Regions from separate parts of the Homo sapiens genome. Here region 1 is linked to region 2. The links are contacts of gene promoters, found by promoter capture Hi-C in blood cells and fetal thymus (Javierre and others, 2016). All regions are on one chromosome and are shown on one strand. The core of a region is centred on a gene start or on the middle of the fragment in contact, and the rest is flanking DNA. Distances in the headings are between cores, read along the strand shown.

What was found. The method cuts DNA at HindIII sites, captures the fragments that hold promoters and counts their contacts. A CHiCAGO score of 5 or more calls a contact.
Region 1: a contact is called between a fragment that was not itself captured here and the fragment with the promoter of APBB1IP in region 2, in 10 of 17 cell types (total CD8 T cells, naive CD8 T cells, non-activated CD4 T cells and 7 more). The highest score is 8.7, in total CD8 T cells.

What each region holds. Positions count from the first base shown.
Region 1 is chr10:26,527,718-26,532,900 of GRCh38, reverse strand. All of the region lies in intron 8 of APBB1IP (amyloid beta precursor protein binding family B member 1 interacting protein), which reads right to left. Among named protein-coding and RNA genes, the nearest start is that of LINC03028, 49 kb to the left of the region's middle. RefSeq lists a silencer at 3,387-3,436. The HindIII fragment of the contact is 2,015 bases long and covers 2,691-4,705 here.
Region 2 is chr10:26,434,755-26,439,785 of GRCh38, reverse strand. APBB1IP (amyloid beta precursor protein binding family B member 1 interacting protein) reads right to left here and starts at 1,445. Exons shown (of 15, transcript NM_019043.4): 1 at 1,331-1,445; 2 at 933-1,134. RefSeq lists enhancers at 1,112-1,191, 1,752-1,881, 1,599-2,128. The HindIII fragment of the contact is 5,297 bases long and covers 1-3,892 here.

The sequences.
Region 1 (5,183 bases), core at 2,449-4,948, 91 kb before region 2:
ACACAAGGTTTACTATTTAGCAACTTCCAAGGACAGAAAGAAGCAGAAAGGGCATTTCTGGAAAGAAAACCAGCCTAAACAAAGACAGGGAGGACTATGATCTAAGCACTCACAGTCTGGGTGTGGCTCATGCCCATAATCCCACCACTCTGGGAGGCTGAGGCAGGAGGATTGTTTGAACCCTGGAGTCTGAGACCAGCCTGGGCAACATAGTAGGACCCTGTCTCTACTAAAAATAATAATGAAAAAATTAGCTAGGCATGGCGGCATGCATGCTTGTAGTCTCATCTACTTGAGAGGCTGAGGCTAGAGGACTGCTTGAGCCCAGGAGTTTGAGGCTGCAGTAAGCTATGATCACTCCACTGCACTCCAGCCTGGGCAACAGAGTGAGACCTTGTCTCAAAAAATAAAATAAAATAAAAAAATAAAGAAATAAAAGAACTCACAAGTGGACTCATGGTCTCTAAGCATGGTTTGTATTAATTTCTGGATCATACTTTGTTAATACTGAGTATCAACAGGATGGCTAAAAATAAAGGGTTCCAAAAAATCACGAGCACTCAAGGACTAATTTTACACAATAAGTGCAGCTGAGGTATCCATATGCACCGTGAATATAATGAGTGACCACTGTCATAGAGTGCTGAGGATTTTATGTAAAAACACGGAGTTTTACAAAATAATACATAACAAATGTATTAAAGGCAGAAAATGTATCTCAGAAGCACTGTGACTAAATTAAGGACCCTACTGAATCTAGGCACAAGTGTTTACACCATAGGAGTGTTTCTCCAAGTATAATCCTCAGACCACCTTGAAACTTGATACAATGCATGTTCCTGGGCTACACTGGAATCTCTGGGATGAGGCCTGGAAATCTGCATTCCAATATGCTTTCCAGATGATTTTTATGCACACTGAAGTTTGGGTTTTTCTTATCGTTGGCTTTTCTTTAGAGACAAGGTCTTGCTCTGTTACCCAAGCTGGAGTGCAGTCACATGATCATAGCTCACTGCAGCCTTGAACTCCTGGGCTCAAGCAATCTCCCCTGCTCAGCCTTCTAAATAGCTGGGACTATAGGCATGTGCACCATGCCTGGTCATGCTGAAGTTTGAGAATCAAGTGTACTGGACAGAAAGGAAAAAAACTGCAGACAAATAAAATGTAGAAGTTTAAAATATCTCCTTGAAATACAATGCATAAAAAAGGTGATTTGCTAACTTTTTTTTTTTTTGAGACGGGGTCTCGCTCTGTCACCCAGGCTGGAGTCCAGTGGCGCCATCTCGGTTCACTGCAAGCTCCGCCTCTCAGGTTCATGCCATTCTCCTGCCTCAGCCTCCCGAGTAGCTGGGACTACAGGCGCCCGCCATCGCGCCCGGCTAATTTTTTGTATTTTTAGTAGAGATGGGGTTTCACCATGTTAGCCAGGATGGTCTCGATCTCCTGACCTCGTGATCCGCCTGCCTCGGACTCCCAAAGTGCTGGGATTACAGGCATGAGCCACCGCGCCTGGCTGCTAACTTAAATAGAGGAAATAAGTCAAGCACAATTTTTTTTGTTTTTTTGAGACAGCGTCTTGCTCTGTCACCCAGGCTGGAGTGCTGTGGTGCAATCTTGGCTCACTGAAACCTCTGCCTCCTGGGTTCAAGGGATTCTCCTTCCTCATCCTCCCAAGTAGCTGGGATTACAGGTGTGCACCACCATGCCCAGCTAACTTTTTGTATTTTTAGTAGAAATGGGGTTTTTTAATGTTGGCCAGGCTGGTCTCAAACTGCCCCCCTCAGCCTCCCAAAGTGCTAGGATTACAGGCATAAACCACCACGCCTGGCCAAGTACAATTCTTTTGGTAATTCTTATTGAAAAGAAGTTTATTTTAATATGTTTTTCCAAGACTTTTAAACTTTTATTTGTTATTTGAAAGGATGTTATATTGTGAATTAGTGCAATTACAATATAGAATTCAGAAAACTATTTAAATCTTAAATGTTTTGCTTGAAGACCACGACTAGCCATATTAGGTAACATATTCTACCTGCTGGAAACCTATGCTAAGGCTTTACAGATACGATTTTATTTCATCCTCACAAGAACCCCGTAACATAGGTACCATTGCTATTGCTACTTTACAGATGAGGACACAGAGGATTAAGTGATTTTCCCAAGGCCGATTAGTGGCAGAACGTTGAGTTATTAAATAATTTTTTTTTTTTTTGAGACAGAGTCTTGCTCTGTCGCCAGGGTGGAGTGCAGTAGCGCGATCTCGGCTCACTGCAACCTCCAACTCCTGGGTTCAAGCAATTCTCCTGCCTCAGCCTCCCGAGTAGCTGGGATTACAGGCACGCACTACCACGCTCAGCTAATTTTTGTATTTTTAGTAGAGACGGGGTTTCACCATGTTGGCCAGGATGGTCTCGATCTCCTGACCTTGTGATCTGCCCGCCTCGGCCTCCCAAAGTGCTGCGATTACATGCGTGAGCCACCATACCTGGCCAAGTTATTAAATAATTTTTCTCAGCATTAAAATACTCTTAAGTACAGAGCCGGGCATAATGGCATGCACCTGTAGTCCCAGCTACTCCAGAGGCTGAGGCAGGAAGATCACTTGAGCCCAGGTGTTTGAGTCCAGCCTGGGTCACACAGTGGGGGCCTCGTCTCAAAAAAAAAAAAAAAAAGAAAAAGAAAAAAAAGCTTTAAGTACCATAGGGGAGAATCTAGCACAGCAATGTGAATGTACTTAATACCACAGAAGGGTACACTTAAAAATGGTTAAGATGATAAGTCCTATGTTACATATATTTTTCCACAATAACAAAAGATGTGACCCAATATGAGTTCGCCCATTCATACAAGAGTGATTTCAAGGTGCTGCTAGAAAGCAAACCTTGGCTTAGGAAGGCCAGATATTTGAATCACGTATGATGAACTGGAAGCATGAACAGAGAGCATAATGAAGACTCCAAACCCGGGTGCGGTGGCTCACGCCTGTAATCCCAGTACTTTGGGTGGCCAAGGTGGGTGAATCACCTGAGGTCAGCAGTTCGAGACCAGCCTGGCTAACATGGCAAAACCCTGTCTCTACTAAAAATACAAAAATTAATTGGGTTTGGTGGTGGGCGCCTGTAATCCCAGCTACTAGGGAGGCTGAGGCAGAAGAATCACTTGAGACTGGGAAGTGGAGGTTACAGTGAGCTGAGATCATCCCACCGCACTCCAGCTTGGGTGACAAAGCAAGACTCCATCTCAGGAAAAAGGAAAAATTAAAAGAAAAAAAAAGACTCCAGAGCAAGTGTTTGTCATCATCCTTATCTGGGAAAGACAGAGCATCTGTCACCCTCTGCAGGGAAGAACCTGTCTAAACTGTGAAGGGCCACATTTCACCAGGGTGCCCTAAAGAGGCAGGATGTATAGCTGTACCTTTCTCTGAGAACTTTCTCTGACATACTTCTGACTTTTTCAGCTTCAGAATATCCTTCTAAGTGACCATGCTACACTGTTTTTGTTTTTTCTTTTAATGAAATAGCAAAAAACACAAAGCAAATCTGTGCTGGAGGAGGGCAGTCCTTAGAATAAGAATAATTCTTAGAATAATAAGACTGATTGCTTTCGGATCGGAACTTCCACCTGCGGTGTGGGCGCCCACTCAATGCGGGCTGTTCTGTAGAAGTAGTGAGCAGAACTCAACGTTTAGTCATTATATCCTGCAAATGGAAACTGGGTAAACCTGAGTCGAATAATAAAGGAACTTTAAAATGGGAAATGAGACTCTTGGTCATAGCTTGCTCTCTTTTCTCACAGCTTCTGGGAGTGCAACATTTGGGGACAGCTGGATAGGAAAGAAACAGCAAATACTTTTTAAAAATCTTCTTGGAATAAAGAGTAAATCAAGCAAACAGTTATCAGTTCGTGAAGAAATATTTGTGAGTACCCTTTATACATGTAAAACATCCCTGTTCTTTCTTTGGGGAGGGACATATCTCACTCTGTCACCTATGCTGGAGTGCAGTGGCGTGATCATGGTTCACTGCAACCTCCGCCTCCCAGGTTCAAGCAATTCTCCCACCTCAGCCTTGCAAGTAGCTGGGGCTACAGGCACATGCCACCATGGTCAGCTAATTTTTAAATTTTTTGTAGAGATGGGGTCTTGCTATGTTGCCCAGGCTGGTTTGAAACTCCTGAGTTCAAGGGATTCACCTGCCTCGGCCTCCCAAAGTGCTGGGATTACAGGCGTGAGCCACCATGCCTGGCCTCAAATCCCTGTTCTTAAGAAGGTTGCTATCACATGGAGAAGATAAATACAGATCGATCATAGTGAGATGGACAGATGACTCTATATCTGTCAATGGGGAAGATATAAGAGACTACAAAAATTCAAAATGAGCCACAGTCTAGAGATTTTCAGGAAGGAAGAAATTACTATGGACTGCGATGGTCAAGAAAAACTTTACAGAGGGGGTCAAAGTTTGAACGAGGCCTTGAAAGCTGTTCAATGTTCTGGTAGGGAAAAAAAGAATAAGAATAGATTTCCAGGGAGGAGAACAAGCATGCACAAAGGCACAGAGGTGTCTTTGGAGCACTAGTGAGCAGCCAGTCAGGCTAGAGCTATGGGGTTAATGCAGTTCACTGAGTGAAGATCAGACCATCGCTCCCAGTTCTCTGCTCGCTGTCAGGTGACTGGGCAGTAACTTCCCCCAGAATGGGTGAAGCTTATTTCCTTGCTTCACTTACGTTGGGTTTGGCCATGTGACTTGCTTTGACCAAAAGAATGTGGCAGATGGGACGATGCATGGATTCTAAGCAGAGAGCTTGAGGTGCAGAGTGTGTTTCTGTCATTTGCCTGTACTCTTCCCATTGACCGTGGGAAGAATATGTCAGAGTTCTGTGCTATCCAGGGACAATAAGAGAGGCGTGGGGCCAGGCGCAGCGGCTCATGTTTGTAATCCCAGCATTTTGAGAGGCCAAGGCTGTTGGATCACCTGAGGTCAGGAGTTCGAGACCAGCCTGGCCAAGATGGTGAAACCCCATCTCTACTAAATATACAAAATTAGCCGGGCCTGGTGGCACATGCCTGTAATCTCAGCTACTTGGGAGGCTGAGGCAGCAGAATCGCTTGAACCCGGGAGGCAGAGGTTGCAGTGAGCCGAGATCGTGCCATTGCACTCCAGCCTGGGCCACAGGAGCAAAAC
Region 2 (5,031 bases), core at 196-2,695:
CCACCAGAAAAAAACATCTGGGGGCATAATAAACTCACGGGCCCTTTTCTTTTGTTACTTTCCTCTAGTACTCCGTCTCGTCAAGGATCACATTAAAAGTTCTTTTGAACCGCTATGCCCTGAGTGTCTAGGAAACACATTTCACGTTCCACAGGGGTATGAACTAAGAAATACCTTAGCAGGAAAGTAAGAGGTACACCGGGCTAGGTCTTTGGTGGAACACCTGCGCAGAGGTTCTTGGAGACATTAGGACACCCTAGTTAGTTTCCTCCATTCTGTAAAAGGCCCTCTGGATATTCATTTCAAGCCAAATTATGAAACTTGTGCCTGGTGTCCAAATCTATCTTTATGGTATTTTAAAATGAAAATGAGAATATTCGGGGGAAAAAGTTATTTTTAAAAAGAGGAAAGAGTTGTCCAAAAGTTTTAGAGGAAGGAAACACTCTAAGATGCATCAGACTGCGAGCCACACTCAAATTCTCACACGGCTGGCATTTAATCCACATCTAATCTTGGCCCCTCAAGAATCCCTCCAGGTTCCGGGAGACTGGGGCTCCCGGACCTGCTGACCTGCTGACCTGCTGACCTGCTGGACGTGCAAGGGTTCATAGCAGTTCCCCGTTTGACCTTGCAGCAATTTCCTGGGCAGGAAATCTGTCAAATCTGTTGCAATAGCTCGGGAAAAAGCAAACCCGAACCCCAAACCCTCACACCCCCACCCTCGCGAGCCGGGTCCAGAGTGGAGATCAGCGGAGGGGACCCTGGGGACCCGCTGCGCTCGAGGGCCACGCCTGGGGGCACGCGTTCACGAGGCCAGATCCTGGAGCTGCCCCCGGCGTCGGACCCGACGGGCTTGACAAACGGGTTCCTGACAGCCCCGAGGGGCCCGTGCTGGCGCTCCCAGGGCTCCCGGGACTGGGAGCGCCACTTACCTCGACTGCTCTGCGGGGCGCTGCGGGGCGCGGGAAGGCGGCGAGACTCCGGCCGGGAAAGCGACGCGCGGTGCAGACTGCCGCACCCGGGCTCCAGGTCGCTGCCCCGGGGAGGAAGTGCTGTCAGCCCTGCCCTTCCCACGCAGCGCGCAGACGTGTGGCGCTATCCGAGCTGCTTTGCTCCGAGGTGCAAGGAAGGCCCCTGGTTAGAGACAGTGGGACAGACAAACATATGCGTAAAGGACTCCGAGTTAGGGGCTGCTTTCTCCAACTCATCGAGTCTGCGCCTGATTTTCTCTCCCCCATCCCACCCCTACTACACAACCACCTTGAAGGGATTTTTATTTTATTTTATTTTATTTTATTTTAATTCTGGGAAACGTTGCGCCTCCCCCTACCTGTGCCGCGCGCGCCCTTCTCTCAGGAGCGTCTCCTGGCGAATGGAACCATTTTGCAGCCTCGACGCAAGAGGGACTAAGGGATTGGGGCCTAGTGATGGTTCCACCAAAGACTGAGAGGCCGCTTTATGTTGCAACGGTCTCCCAAAGTGTTTACTTCAGCACTTTCTGGGCTTCCTCTTTTGGGCCGGTTGTGCAAGGCTTCCCGGCCGCCTGCAGCCCGCCCTCAGGGGACGCGGTGCAGGGCTGGACTGGCAACACGCGCGTCCCGGCCGGAGTTCAGCTGTCTCTCGGGTGGGGGTGGAGGAAGGGCGCGCTGGGCGGAGGCCCTTTCTCAACCATCAGGTTGGTAACCTCACCCTCCTCCCTCCCCACGTTTAACCACGCTCAGTTGGCCGGCCAGGGTGTAGAGGAATAGCACTGTCTTCATTGCTCGTAGAAATCCAAAATGGTCTGAACCCCGTGGAAGAGAATTGAGCAATATCTATTTAACTTATGTATGGATTCGCCTTTTGACCCCGTCATCCCACTTCCAGGAGTGTGTTACGAAGATCTGCTGATGAAAATAAGTAATGCACACGGCAGAGGGCATTCATGGACTCACTATTTGCAACAGCATAGGACTGGCTGGAAATAGCACCTGTCAGTTGGGAGTGGAGTTTCCTGAGAGAAAGTCGCTGGGGAGGTCTGAAAATACAGAAGTTAAAATCAGTTATGATTTGTAAATGCGGTTGAATAACCCTCCCCTTCTCCTCTACAGCTGTGTCTTCAAAGGCTTATATGTCAGGGAAGGTGGTGAAGACATAAAGACAGAAATTAGGTGCATGTGTTAATTAGGCAATTTCAAATAGTTCTGTCATTTATTTAATGAGAAACTATTCGTAAGCACCAACACTTCTAAGAACAATGAAAATAGTTAGAGGAAACAATTTCTGCTCTCATGCATGGTGCATTCTAGTTGGTAGAAAGCAGACAATAAACAAATTAATATTTAACATGTCAAGGAATGTAACTAGTTTTGAAGGAAGTTAAAAGGTGAGGGATAGAGAGTGATGGGCATGGGGATGGGGTTGCTGTATTAATTAGGGTAAATAAACGATAAATAAATAGAAAATATATTTTCTCCTCATGATTTTCTTAATAACAGTTTCTTTTCTCTAGCTTTCTTTATTGTAAAAATACAGTATTTATCTAAATACATATAACATAATATGTGTTAATTGACTGTTTAATATTATCAGTAAGGCTTCTGGTCAACAGTAGGCTATTCGTGGTTAAGTTTTGGGGGAGTCAAAAGACATACATGGATTTTCAATTGTGCAGCAGTTTGGTACTCCTGAAATCTGGCATTGTTCTGTTACAGTAGGTAGCTAGTCAGGCATGAGCAGGGCAGGAGAGGGCTCCTCCCACCCCCTACCAGGAATGTCAGGTGACCATCAGGTGATGATCAAGCAGTTGTTATCAGCCTTACTGATAACATAGTCGATTAACTCATATTATTTTATATATATTAAATACTGTATTTTTATAATAAAGTAAGCCAGAGAAAAGAAACTGTTATTAATAAAATCATAAGGAAGAGAAAATGTATTTTTCATTTATTTATTTATTATTTATTTATCCTAATTTTTTTTAATATAGCACCAGGGAAAGGCAGTCTCCCAATAGACAGAAACACCTGAAACTGGTATTTCTGTCTGATAAGTGACACTTGAGCTAGATCTAAATGGCATGAGAGATTAATCCACACTGGGTTTTTAGATGGGAATATTCCAGGCAAAAGGAACAGCACATTCAAAGACCCTGAGTTAGGAGAGCACTTAAGATATTGGAAAAACACCAAGGAAATTAGTACGGCTGAGCAGAGTGAGATGGGAGGGACAGACATGAGATGGGATCAAAAGGAAATGGTGCCCAGATTGTGTGCTATTTGGGAGCTGTGGAAGAGAATTTGATGTGAGTGAGATGGAAAGCCAGTGGAAGGTTCTGAGCAGAGTTGTAAGTGCTACATAAAATATAAAATCAAACAATGAGAGTGACTTTCTTGGGGCAGGGAAAGTGGTCAAGGATCACCTCTTTACAAAGTAATGAGAAGGGGCAGCCATTCAGAAACTTGGGAAAGGATTCCAAGAGAAGGAAGAACAAGAAGAGGGGCTGAGATAGGAACATAGAAAGTTCAAAAGAAGGCAGGCCAGTGTGCCTGGAATGTTCTGAAAGAGTAGGGCAGCAATAGTGGATGGGGACAGAGAGGTAAGCAGGAACCAGAACAAGCAGGACCTTGTAGCCAGCATTGAGGACTTTAGGTTTTATTCTAATTGCAATGGGGGACTATTGGAATGTATTTAGCAACTGAGTGCATGATTTGACTTAAGCGATAAGCCATCCTGCCAGTTGGTGATTGTTCAGAAAATCAATTGATTGAAGCAAGAGAAGAGAGATTCCTCAGTAGACTATGGTCAGAGTCCAGATGAAAAATGATAGTAGCTTTATTAGTATTCTAACAGTAGATATGGTGAGAAGAGTTTGGAATCAAGATACAGTTTTCAAAATAAAACCAAAGCTTGGCACAGTTGCTCATGCCTGTAATATCAGTGCTTTAGGAGGCCAAGGTGGTAGGATCACTTGAGGCCATGAGTTCAAAACTAGCCTGGACAACATAGCAAGACCCTATCTCTACAAAAATGGGGGAAAAAATTAGCTGGGTATGGTGGCTTATGCCTATGGTTCCAGTTGCTTGGGAGACTGAGGCAGGAGGATTGCTTGAGCCCAGGAGTTCAAATCTGCAGTGAGCTATGATGATGCCACTGTACTCCAGCCTGGGCAACAGAGCAAGACTATTTAAACAAACAAACAAACAACCACCTAGCAAAGTAGAACCAATAGCATTTGCTGATGGGTGGGCTGGGAAATGGGATGGGAGTAAGGGAGTGGCAGAGGGATTAGAAACTGAATGGAAACCAGTATGATTGGAGTTATGGAAGGTCTGGTTAGAGGTAAGGTCAGTAGGGGCAAACCATGTAGGGTCATGTGGACTATGTCAAGAATTATTTTCTCATCCTAAGAGCAATGAGAATATATTAAATAATATTTTAAGCTGGCAAATGATGGGATTTATGCTTTAGGAAAATCACTCTGGCATAATTTGGGGAACGGATCAGATGAAGAAAAGAATAGATGCAGGAAGACTTCTGAGCTAAGTTGGGAAAGAAAATACAATTGGCCTTTGAACTGCCAGCAGCAGAATATATCTGAGACACGGCACCAAAATATGTTAGCTTTGGCAAAACCATATGGGTCTGTAGCGACCTAAATTCTTGCCTCCTCAGAAGAAAGAATTCAACTGAGGGGCATAAGGCAGAAGAAGAGACTAAGGCAAGCTTTAGAGCAGGAGCGAAAGTTTATTAGAAAACTGTAGGGCAGTAACAAAAGAAAGTAAATTATACTTGGAAGAGGGCCAAGCGGGTGACTTGAGAGAAGTGCGCTGTTTGACTTTTGACTTGGGGCTTTACGCATTGACATACTTCGGGGTCTTGTCTTCCTCCTCCTGATTCTTCCCATGGAGTGGGCTGTCCACATGAGCAGTGGCGTGCCAGCACTTGGGAGGTGAGCATGCGCAGTGTGTTTACTGAAGTTGTACGCGTGTTCACTTTAGGCATTCTTCCCTTACCAAATGTCCCTGGAAGGTCATTTGCCAGTTAAAC